Regions from separate parts of the Homo sapiens genome. Here all the other regions are linked to region 2. Evidence: promoter capture Hi-C in human tissues and cell types (Jung and others, 2019). All regions are on one chromosome and are shown on one strand. Each heading gives the region's core, a stretch centred on a gene start or on the middle of the fragment in contact. The rest is flanking DNA. Distances are from core to core; before and after follow the strand shown.

Region 1 (3,213 bases), core at 636-3,135, 320 kb before region 2:
TAGCACAGGACTTGTTACATTATTAGTGCTTAAAATACTTAACCATTTTACTTTCACATGTCTGTGTACAAACTATACAGGTACTTGCTCCTAACATTTAAGTATACTCTAAGTTCCTAATTTACTTAGAAAACTGTCTTCTATTATTTGGATTCAAGTCAGGTTAGACTACTTAGGCATCTCCTAAAATCAATGAGCTGGTTACTATTAACTCTTCCCTGGGACCTATACCTATAATCTCTTATGTAAACTTTGCTCCTAGCTCCCTTCATCCAATCTAGGTCCAATTTTGAAATTGGACCTAAATCTTGCCCTCATATAGACAAAATGGAAAAACTGTTAATCTTTTCTCCTATTTTCCATGACCTAAGCTTTAATAACACAATTCTTATATCCTTCCCCAATCCCAGAAATCATCTCATTTTATTGCACATACTCTAGCAAAATCCAGCACCCAGGAGGCTGTCCATTATATTTTCTTCCTGTCTGGCAACTTCTGATTTTTTTTTTTTTGGTTCATTTCAAAATTAACATTTCTCAAATCCACATGTACACTCACATAAATAGCACTGCTCTTCGCTACAGCAAAAATGAGCACTAAACTAAAACATGCATATCTGGAGGAAACATTATTCATCACTGACAACAGAAAGAACAGACACTTGGAAGTTTTCAATGTTTAAAATAAATAACAGCCAATTCAAAAGTTGGAACAGGATGAGTGCAGTGGCTCACACCTGTAATCCCAGCACTTTGGGAGGCCACGGCGGGCAAATCACTTGAGGTCAGGAGTTCGAGACCAGCCTGGCCAACATGGTGAAACCCTGTCTCTACTAAAAATACAAAAATTAGCTGGGCCTGGTGGCAGGCGCCTGTTATTCCAGCTATTCAGGAGGCTGAGGGAAAAGAATCACTTGAACCGAGGAGGCGGAGGTTGTAGTGAGCCGAGATTGTACCACTGCACTCCAGCTTGGTTGACAGAGTAAGACCCTACCTCAAAAAGCCAAAAGTTCTAACAGGCAAGGGGTATATAAGCCTGGAAGATAAATTTACAACATCTGATCAGATGTAGAGAACAGCTAGACATATGATCAACTAAGTAAGCCACAATCACTTGAGAAGGACCTTTGAATGCCAGACCAAGAATTTAGAGCATATGTAAAATAGGAAGCCACTCAAGTTCTTTAATAGGAAGAGATCATGGTAAAAACGGGTTAAAGCATTATCAGTCTATCTATTAGCAGTGCATGGAATAAACTGCAAAGAAGCAAAGGCAGAGAGAGCTGACAGGAAAGTGATGAGTACAGCCAGAAGGCATTAATAACCTAGGTATTGGGTGATGAGTGCCTAGATTATAAGTGTAGAAATAAAAAACAGAATCAAACAAAAAATTTCCAAAGAAAAACAAAATGTAGTTGGGCATGGTGGCACACGTCAGCTACTTAAAGAGGCTGAGGTGGGAGGATAGCTTGAGCCCAGGAGTTTAAGTCCAACATGGGCAACATGGTAAAACCCCACCTCTAAAAAAAAAATAATGATAAAGACATTGGTATCAAACACATATTAATATCTAATTGCACAGGAGATATGGAAGATAAAAAGGAGAAATAAATTAAAACAATAACAACAACACTAGGTACTATGGTAAAAAAAAAAAAACAAACACTAAGTAGTATGGCAGAAATCCAATGATCCAAGATCTGGTCTCAACTGTACTACTCAACAGCTAGCTGTATATACTAAAGAAGCTCATCCCTCCTCCTTGGGAAAAAAGCTCACTCACTGGTAAAATGAAAGAATTGCGTAGGTGAGCTTAGGGTTCCTTTTATCTCTTTAGCACTCTCATATCTTTGGTAGAAAACACTATAACAAAATTTAATTAATTTCATTTAGGAGAAAAGACTAAGATCATATAAAGTATTCAAGATTTATTAGTTTGGGCAATCCATTTCTATATGCTATGGCTCTAGGGGATTTCAAACTTTGAAAGTTCTGAGTTTTACCAACTCAGACCCAGATAAGTTATGTGATTTCCTCATAGCTAATTAGTACAAAAACCTATAACAGATCCTTGCATTTTTGACTCCCAAATAAACTTAATGAGAAAAACCTGTTTAATAACTGTTCTCAGCAGAAAAAATATAACAGCCACACTCTAAAAGTAGATCAAATGCCCAACTACAGAAAAATAAATGATGCTATAATAACATAATGGAATGGAATGTAAATATTAAAAATGATAATAATAAAATATTATTAAAATATTACTTCACAAACCAACAGAAAGTTGGGTAAAGATATAAAAAGACAGTTGGAAAAGAAAAATGGCTCCGAAAACTGTGAAAAGATACTTAATCTCACTCATAATAAAATAATGCAAATTAAACCTATACTCAGATACTTTTCACCCATCAAACGGGCAAAAATCAAAAAGTTTGAAAACACATTTGTTGACAATGTTGCAGAATGGCACTACTGATGAACATGCAAATCTGTACAATTTATGGTGGGCAATTTGGTAATTTGCATTAAAATTACTCATATAATCTGCATATACTGGCCTAGAAATTCCACTTCTAATAATATACCCTACTGATGTACTTGCACACTTGTGAAATTATGCACATGTATATGGTGCATAATTATTATATCATAGTTTATAATAGCAAAACACTAAGAACTACCCCAATGTTCACCAAGAGAGATTGGTTAAAGTATGATAAATCTATATAAAGCAATACCACATAGCAATAAAGAGAATGAGAAAACTTTATGTAAAAACATGAAAAAAGTTCATAGTGTTATCTTTTTAAAAGCAATAGGCCAGCCGCAGTAGCTCATGCCTGTAATCCCAGCAGTTTGGAAGGCCAATATGGGAGGGTCACTTGAGTCCAGGAGTTTGAGACCAGCCTGGGAAACATAATGAGACCCCCATCACTACAAAAAAAAAAAAAAAAAAAAAAAAAAAACTAAGGCAACATATGGAATACCACATACAGTATGCCACCTTTCATATAAAAAAGGAGAAAATAAGAACGCATATGTACTTATTAAGTAACAACACACTCACAAAAAGTAATAGTAGTGGTGCTGGTGGGAGTTGGAAATAAGATAACATACAGAGAGATTTTTATGATATGCTATTTCATTTGAAACAAAATTTATGTATTTATCCATGCAAACAAATGTACAGTATTTCATATTAGCATTTTC
Region 2 (3,100 bases), core at 36-2,535:
GAGTCATCCATTGCTGCCATCAAACCACAACTTAATAAGTTAATGGTCAAATTGCCTGTGTCCCACTGATGTTAGTAATGAAGTAGCTAACTACAATTTTAGATCAATGGAAACCCCTTGCTTGACCATAAACCCTGTGCTTCTGGAGACCATGTGTACTTTTGTCATTGTCAAAAACCAGTGATTGCCCGAGCTCGGTGGCTCACACCTGTAATCCCAGCACTTTGGGAGGCCAAGGCAGGCGGATCACGAGGTCAGGAGATCGAGACCATCCTGGCTAACACAGTGAAACCCTGTCTCTACTAAAAATACAAAAAAATTAGCTGGGCGTGGTGGTGGGCGCCTATAGTCCCAGTTACTTGGGAGGCTGAGGCAGGAGAATGGCGTGAACCCGGGAGGCGAAGCTTGCAATGAGCCGAGATCACACCACTGCACTCCAGCCTGAGCGACAGAGTAAGACTCCGTCTGAAAAAAAAAATTGTGCTAAGAAGCACATTTTCTCTCCTTTGTCTAAAAGTGAAACTTCAGGAAATTTTGACATTTAATTTTCCAGAGTGTTAATTTAATGAGTAGTTTCTAATTTTAAGCTCCTACCCCATCTTAATGTGAGAATTAGTGAAATAAATAACATTAAACCATTTTTTAATTTTGGGAGTAAAGACAATAAAAATATGAGGTATTGCTGCTTGAATTAGTAAAAACACAATTTAAACCTTGTTTCTTTCAGAAGTTTTGAGGCCAAAGACCGTAATAAAACAAACTCAGGAGCTTATTTCAAGAGAATACTGTCCTTGTCTCATACCTGTCCTTACTACTTTGTTTTGTGTGCTATTATAAGCTCCTCAACCATCTGACCAAGACAGTTGCAGTGATTTGGCTTCATCCATTCTCGTTTAGTGTGCAGTGCTATGGCTGCAACATTGTGAAATCAATTCCTAGAAGTCACAAAGCAAGAATTTGACGTGAAGGGATGTCCCTCATTTAGAATTCCCTTCTGGATAAGATACTGGGGTTTCATTGCAGGGAATTCTTGAGAGAAAACAATAGGAGGATGAGGGATTGTGAGTTGTGTTTTTTTTTTTTTTTCCTAAAGAAAACTATTAATAAAGGAACCCTGTTGACAGTGTAAAGCAGTGCTTCTCTCTGGGGCCAAGGCCAGAGCTGTGGACACCTTATCCCACTCATCCTCATCCTCTTCCTCTGATAAAGCCCCTACCAGTGCTGATAAAGTCTTTCTCGTGAGAGCCTAGAGGCCTTAAAAAAAAAAGTGCTTGAAAGAGAAGGGGACAAAGGAACACCAGTATTAAGAGGATTTTCCAGTGTTTCTGGCAGTTGGTCCAGAAGGATGCCTCCATTCCTGCTTCTCACCTGCCTCTTCATCACAGGCACCTCCGTGTCACCCGTGGGTGAGTCTCATGTCAAGAACTTGGCACAATGCACTTTTTGTTGTGGCAATTTGCTATAATGTACAGATGATTAAGAACTAGATTCCAGTACCTTAAATGCTAGCTCTAGAATCTTGTAAGAAAAGTCCCTAATAATCCTTGAAAATAGATTTCCCGAGAATTTCTGTTACATGTTCCATTTAGCCTCTTGCCTGGACTCCAAAATTTCCATGGATCTGCCATATCCCACAGCTTTCACTAGCTAAAGAGTTCCTGGAGTATGTGTAAAAATAATTCTATCTTCTTTGTGTTCTAGGCACTTTATAGTTCCAACTTGAAGAGCCAAAAAAAAAAAAATTAAAGTTGAGCATAGAATTTTTCTTTAATGAAGGCAAGGGACTGAAAGCTCTGTTGCCATGGGGGGCACAGATCTGGATAAACCAAACTCATTAGTCTTTATGTCAGAAAATAAGACTTTTTGCACAGATCGAGTGAATCTTAAATTGTCTCCCTCCTCAGGCTTGGTGCAAAACTGGCCAGTCAGGCAAAGAAAAGTTTCAATTCCAGTTACTAACAGATTTCTCTCTTGCATCTTTTTCTAGTAGAATGTGAGTACTAACTGGAACAGAGGGTGGGGGTGAGATGGAGAGAACCATCCTTCTTGACACTTTTGAGTAGCTCAGTATCTAATTGACCCTGGCTTATTTCTTCATGGTTGCTCTAGTACCTGAAAGGATACACATTAAAAATAGGCTTGTGGCCAGGCACGGTGGCTCACACTTGTAATGCCAGCATTTGAGAGGCCAAGGCGGGTGGATCACCTGAGGTCAGGAGTTCAAGACCAGCCTGGCCAACATGGTGAAACTCCGTCTCTACTAAAAATACATACACACAAAAAAATTAGATGGTCATGGTGTTGCATGCCTGTAATTCCAGCTACTTGGGAGGCTGAGGCGGGAGAATCACTTGAACTCGGGATGTGGAGGTTGCAGTGAGCCGAGATCGAACCACTGCACTCCAGCCTGGGCAACAGAGGGAGACTCCATCTCAAAAAAATAAAAATAAAAATAAAAATGGTGATTTGAGACCCTAAGGAGACCTGACACCTAAAGGTAATGTGGGATCCTGGAACAGAAAGATATGGGTGGAAACTAAGGGAATCTGAATAAGTGTGGACTTGAGTTAATAATCAGGTATCAATAGTGGGTCATTAATGTGACAAAGGTACCATGCCAATGTGTGGTAAATGTATGGCTAAAGGTAACGTGTCATAACAAGGGAAACTGGGTGTGGGGTATGTGGGATCTCTTTGTCCTATCATCTCAATTATGCTGTAAATCCAAAACTATTCCAAAAAATATGCTTGAGCTACCTGTCATTAATCACCCCCTATCTGCTGCCAATAACTAACCCAAGGGTCGCTCAGAAAGTTGTCCTCCCGAAAATCTCCACTCCCCTTTCTTCCCACCCTTCTCCTTACCTATTCTCCCTCTAGTACCTCCTATATTCCCCATTCTTTCCATATACCATCGCCCTTCCCAGATCTTTTCCTCCAACCCCCAGCTCCTCAAGGATGATATTTGGCTCAATGCCAGAAGCATGATAAAGGGGGAACTTTGGGAACTAGAGCTGGTGTTTGCCCTGAGAGGACAGGGGAAGTGAGAGAAGAGGAAAAGAAGGGATGAGAAAGGGGGAAGCAAAGTGGGGTGATGAGG
Region 3 (3,144 bases), core at 339-2,838, 360 kb before region 2:
GAGGGAAAGACATGGCTAATTAACAATGCAGAATTACATGTCATATTAACCTGTTATCTAAATTTGACTAGAGTAGTTCAAATAAATGTGGAGAATTCATCAAACCCTGTCCCATGAGACTTTTAGTACCCTATGTCGTAATTTACATTTCCTCAATCTTCAAAACATTTAACTCTTAAAAGACAGAAAATTTCTTAACAACTTACTATATATGTCAAGGAGTAAAACTACACTTGACCTTATTCTAGGGTCTTATTTTATCTGAGAAATAAAGTAAATAATTAGAACTCGAATAAAGCACGAAGAAGTATTACATTATAGGAAAAAATGTGTTCATATTCTCTTTAGAAGAACCAACAATTTCCCCCAAAAGGAATGGTATTTTAAAGTTAATTTGTTAATATTTTCAAAAAGAACTTTCACCTAGTAAAAGAGAATGTAGTAATATTAAAGCTTTGATTTTCAACTATGACTTCCATCTGTTCCTCTACTAATCATATTGTCTGTTATAAACACTATAATCAATACTTCCCTTTCTTGGTTTTGACTATACTTTTATCTCTTTACAGATAAATGTGGATAATATTTCATTTTTATTTGATGTAAAATGTTTTCTTGTTCCATGTAAACAAATATTCTTGTAGATAACATAAAGGAGGTGGAAATAAAATACACATAAATTTTTTCTTCCAAGTTTGAGAGACTGTCAAGGTTCTGAGGGGACTGTAGTTACAAATAATGGAAAAACTCAATTCAGAGGCAGTATTTCTGAAACGTTCAGGGAGAGGTTGGGGGAAAGGGGAATCAATAGGTAGGAAAGAATAACAAATCTATTCTCTAAAAAAGAAATACATGGTGGTATGATGATAATGAACAATTGGTTTCAATAGACAATTTTATTGCTTGAAAATAGTGTATAAACTATAGCTTTTAGAAGACATAAGGGGACTGAATCCAACGTTGCGGAAATTGGTATTCCTTGCTTAAGGAACAATTTCATCTATACCAAGAAATTTTATTCTGTGACTTTATAAAAAAACATGGTGATGTTTGATGTGGAGAAAGTTGTCTATTACATGCAATAGAAACAGGAAATACAAAATATAATTTCTATCTTTGGTTTGCTGAAGGAAAAAAGGGGTAAGAGAAAATGGGAAAATAAAGAAGGCTACAAACCACTTGAAATAAATCATGCAAATAAAAGAGAGCAACTAAATGATTACATGAAAGAAATATTTAACAATAATGTAAAATAAAGCCTCCACTTAGAAATAATTGCTTTGTTTTATATGCCAACTAGATGGTAAAATCATAAAAGATGATAAATGAAACAAAGAAAAAATATAGTTTTCATTAAATAAATAATCCAAATTCATGAAATGACTGTATTGACAAATTGTTAGCAGAATACATGGATACTAGGGGAAGGTGCTTTTTTTTTTTTTTTTTTTTTTTCTTTTCACAAGAAGGATTCAACACAGGAAGGTGCATTTAGAAAGAATCTATGACATATTACATTAAAACAAAAGCTGGCAGGACATGGTGGCTCACGCCTGTAATCGCAACACTTCGGGAGGCCAAGGTGGGCAGATTACCTGAGGTCAGGAGTTCAAGACCAGCCTGGCCAACATGGTAAAACCCCGTCTCTACTAAAAATACAAAAAAATTTAGCCGGGTGTGGTGGTGGATGCCTGTAATCCCAGCTACTCAGAAGGCTGAGGCAGGAGAATCGCTTGGGAACCCAGGAGGCAGAGGTTGCAGTGGGCCGAGATCACGACATTGCACTCCAGCCTGGGTGACAGGAGCGAAACTCCATATCAAAATAATAATAATAATAATAATAATAATAATAATAATAATGCCAGAATATATTTTGTATTACCATCTCTATAATGCTAATAAGCTATTTATAATAATTTTCAAATGTCTTCTAAGAGAAAATCCGAACTCTTTCAAGATTTGAAGTTTTAAACTTTTAAACCTAGTCTCATATTTTCAAAATAATATCACTTATCTACGAAACATATTCTTAAAACCAGTGGTAACCATAGCTGTTACCATTCTTTATACGAGACCTATGATAGTAGATGGTTTGGAAATGCAATAGACTATGCAAGTGCCAATAATAATGTATTTCATAACTTTTCTACAAGGGAAATTTCTAGTATTCTAAAAGTATTAGTGTCCATTAACATAAAGTAATAATGGGCTCTGGAAAAAGATTCAACTACAAATTCAAAAGCTGCTTAATTAAATTCAGTTCTCACTGACTATCAGTTGAAATAGTAATGTCTTATTTACTTCTTACAGGGAACCTTCTAGTTAATTAAACAGATCAGGAAAAAAATATTTTAGCAAAACAAGAAATAACTATCCAATTATTTGTCAATATCAGTTGCACCACTCTTTCCTATTTTGCATCTGGAGGTTCCATTATTCAGGTAGAAATTTAAAACATCCCAGGAAAATATTATTTTTATATTTGTTCTTACTTTCAATGACAAAAAGGCTGAAGTTTAATTCAATTAGAAGGCAATAAAATAAGCTAGTGTTTGTTACTGGTCAAATTTTGGACTTTGTTAAATGGTGTGCTAAAAGTTAAGATAATGGGGGCTAAGACAATAGGAGTAAATAATTCTTTCTCTAAGATTTAATAGTTTATCTTCCAAATTAAAAAAAACAGAGGGAGAGGGAAAAAAATTATCCATTTAAAAATCAAAGCAAGTCTAAAAGGAAATTCCTCTTAGGTGTTTAGCTTTCTAACTACATTTCTGGCTATAATGCATAAAATTACTATAATATCATTACACACAAATCTGTTTTTTTAACAGAAAATTGTCTTAGAATTCATATATTCTAGAAGCAGTTACTTAAGAATTAAGATTTTCTGGATGAGAGAACAAAAGAGTCATGAAGATCTAAAGAAAAATGATGGTGGCTCATACCTGTAATCCCAGCACTTTGCGAAGCCAAGGCGGGCGGATCATGAGGTCAGGATATCGAGACCATCCTGGCCAACATGGTGAAACCCTGTCTCTACTAAAAATAAAAAAATTAGCTGGGCATGGTGGTGTGTGCCTGTAATCCCAGCTACTTAAGAGGCTGAGGCAGAAGAATCGCTTGAACCAGGGAGTCGGAGGTTGC

Evidence for each region. The method cuts DNA at HindIII sites, captures the fragments that hold promoters and counts their contacts. A contact is called where the count stands out against the background at its distance.
Region 1: a contact is called between a fragment that was not itself captured here and the fragment with the promoter of OIT3 in region 2, in 1 of the 25 tissues and cell types used here (IMR-90 fibroblasts).
Region 3: a fragment that was not itself captured here is called in contact with the fragment with the promoter of OIT3 in region 2 in 1 of the 25 tissues and cell types used here (IMR-90 fibroblasts).

The regions. Positions count from the first base shown.
Region 1 is chr10:72,570,367-72,573,579 of GRCh38, forward strand. The region is part of intron 1 of MICU1 (mitochondrial calcium uptake 1); the gene reads right to left. Among named protein-coding and RNA genes, the nearest start is that of MICU1, 54 kb to the right of the region's middle. The HindIII fragment of the contact is 4,136 bases long and covers 1-3,213 here.
Region 2 is chr10:72,892,454-72,895,553 of GRCh38, forward strand. OIT3 (oncoprotein induced transcript 3) reads left to right here and starts at 1,286. Exons shown (of 9, transcript NM_152635.3): 1 at 1,286-1,406. The coding sequence starts at 1,346. The HindIII fragment of the contact is 12,875 bases long and covers 1-3,100 here.
Region 3 is chr10:72,528,515-72,531,658 of GRCh38, forward strand. All of the region lies in intron 5 of MICU1 (mitochondrial calcium uptake 1), which reads right to left. Among named protein-coding and RNA genes, the nearest start is that of MICU1, 96 kb to the right of the region's middle. The HindIII fragment of the contact is 3,476 bases long and covers 1-3,144 here.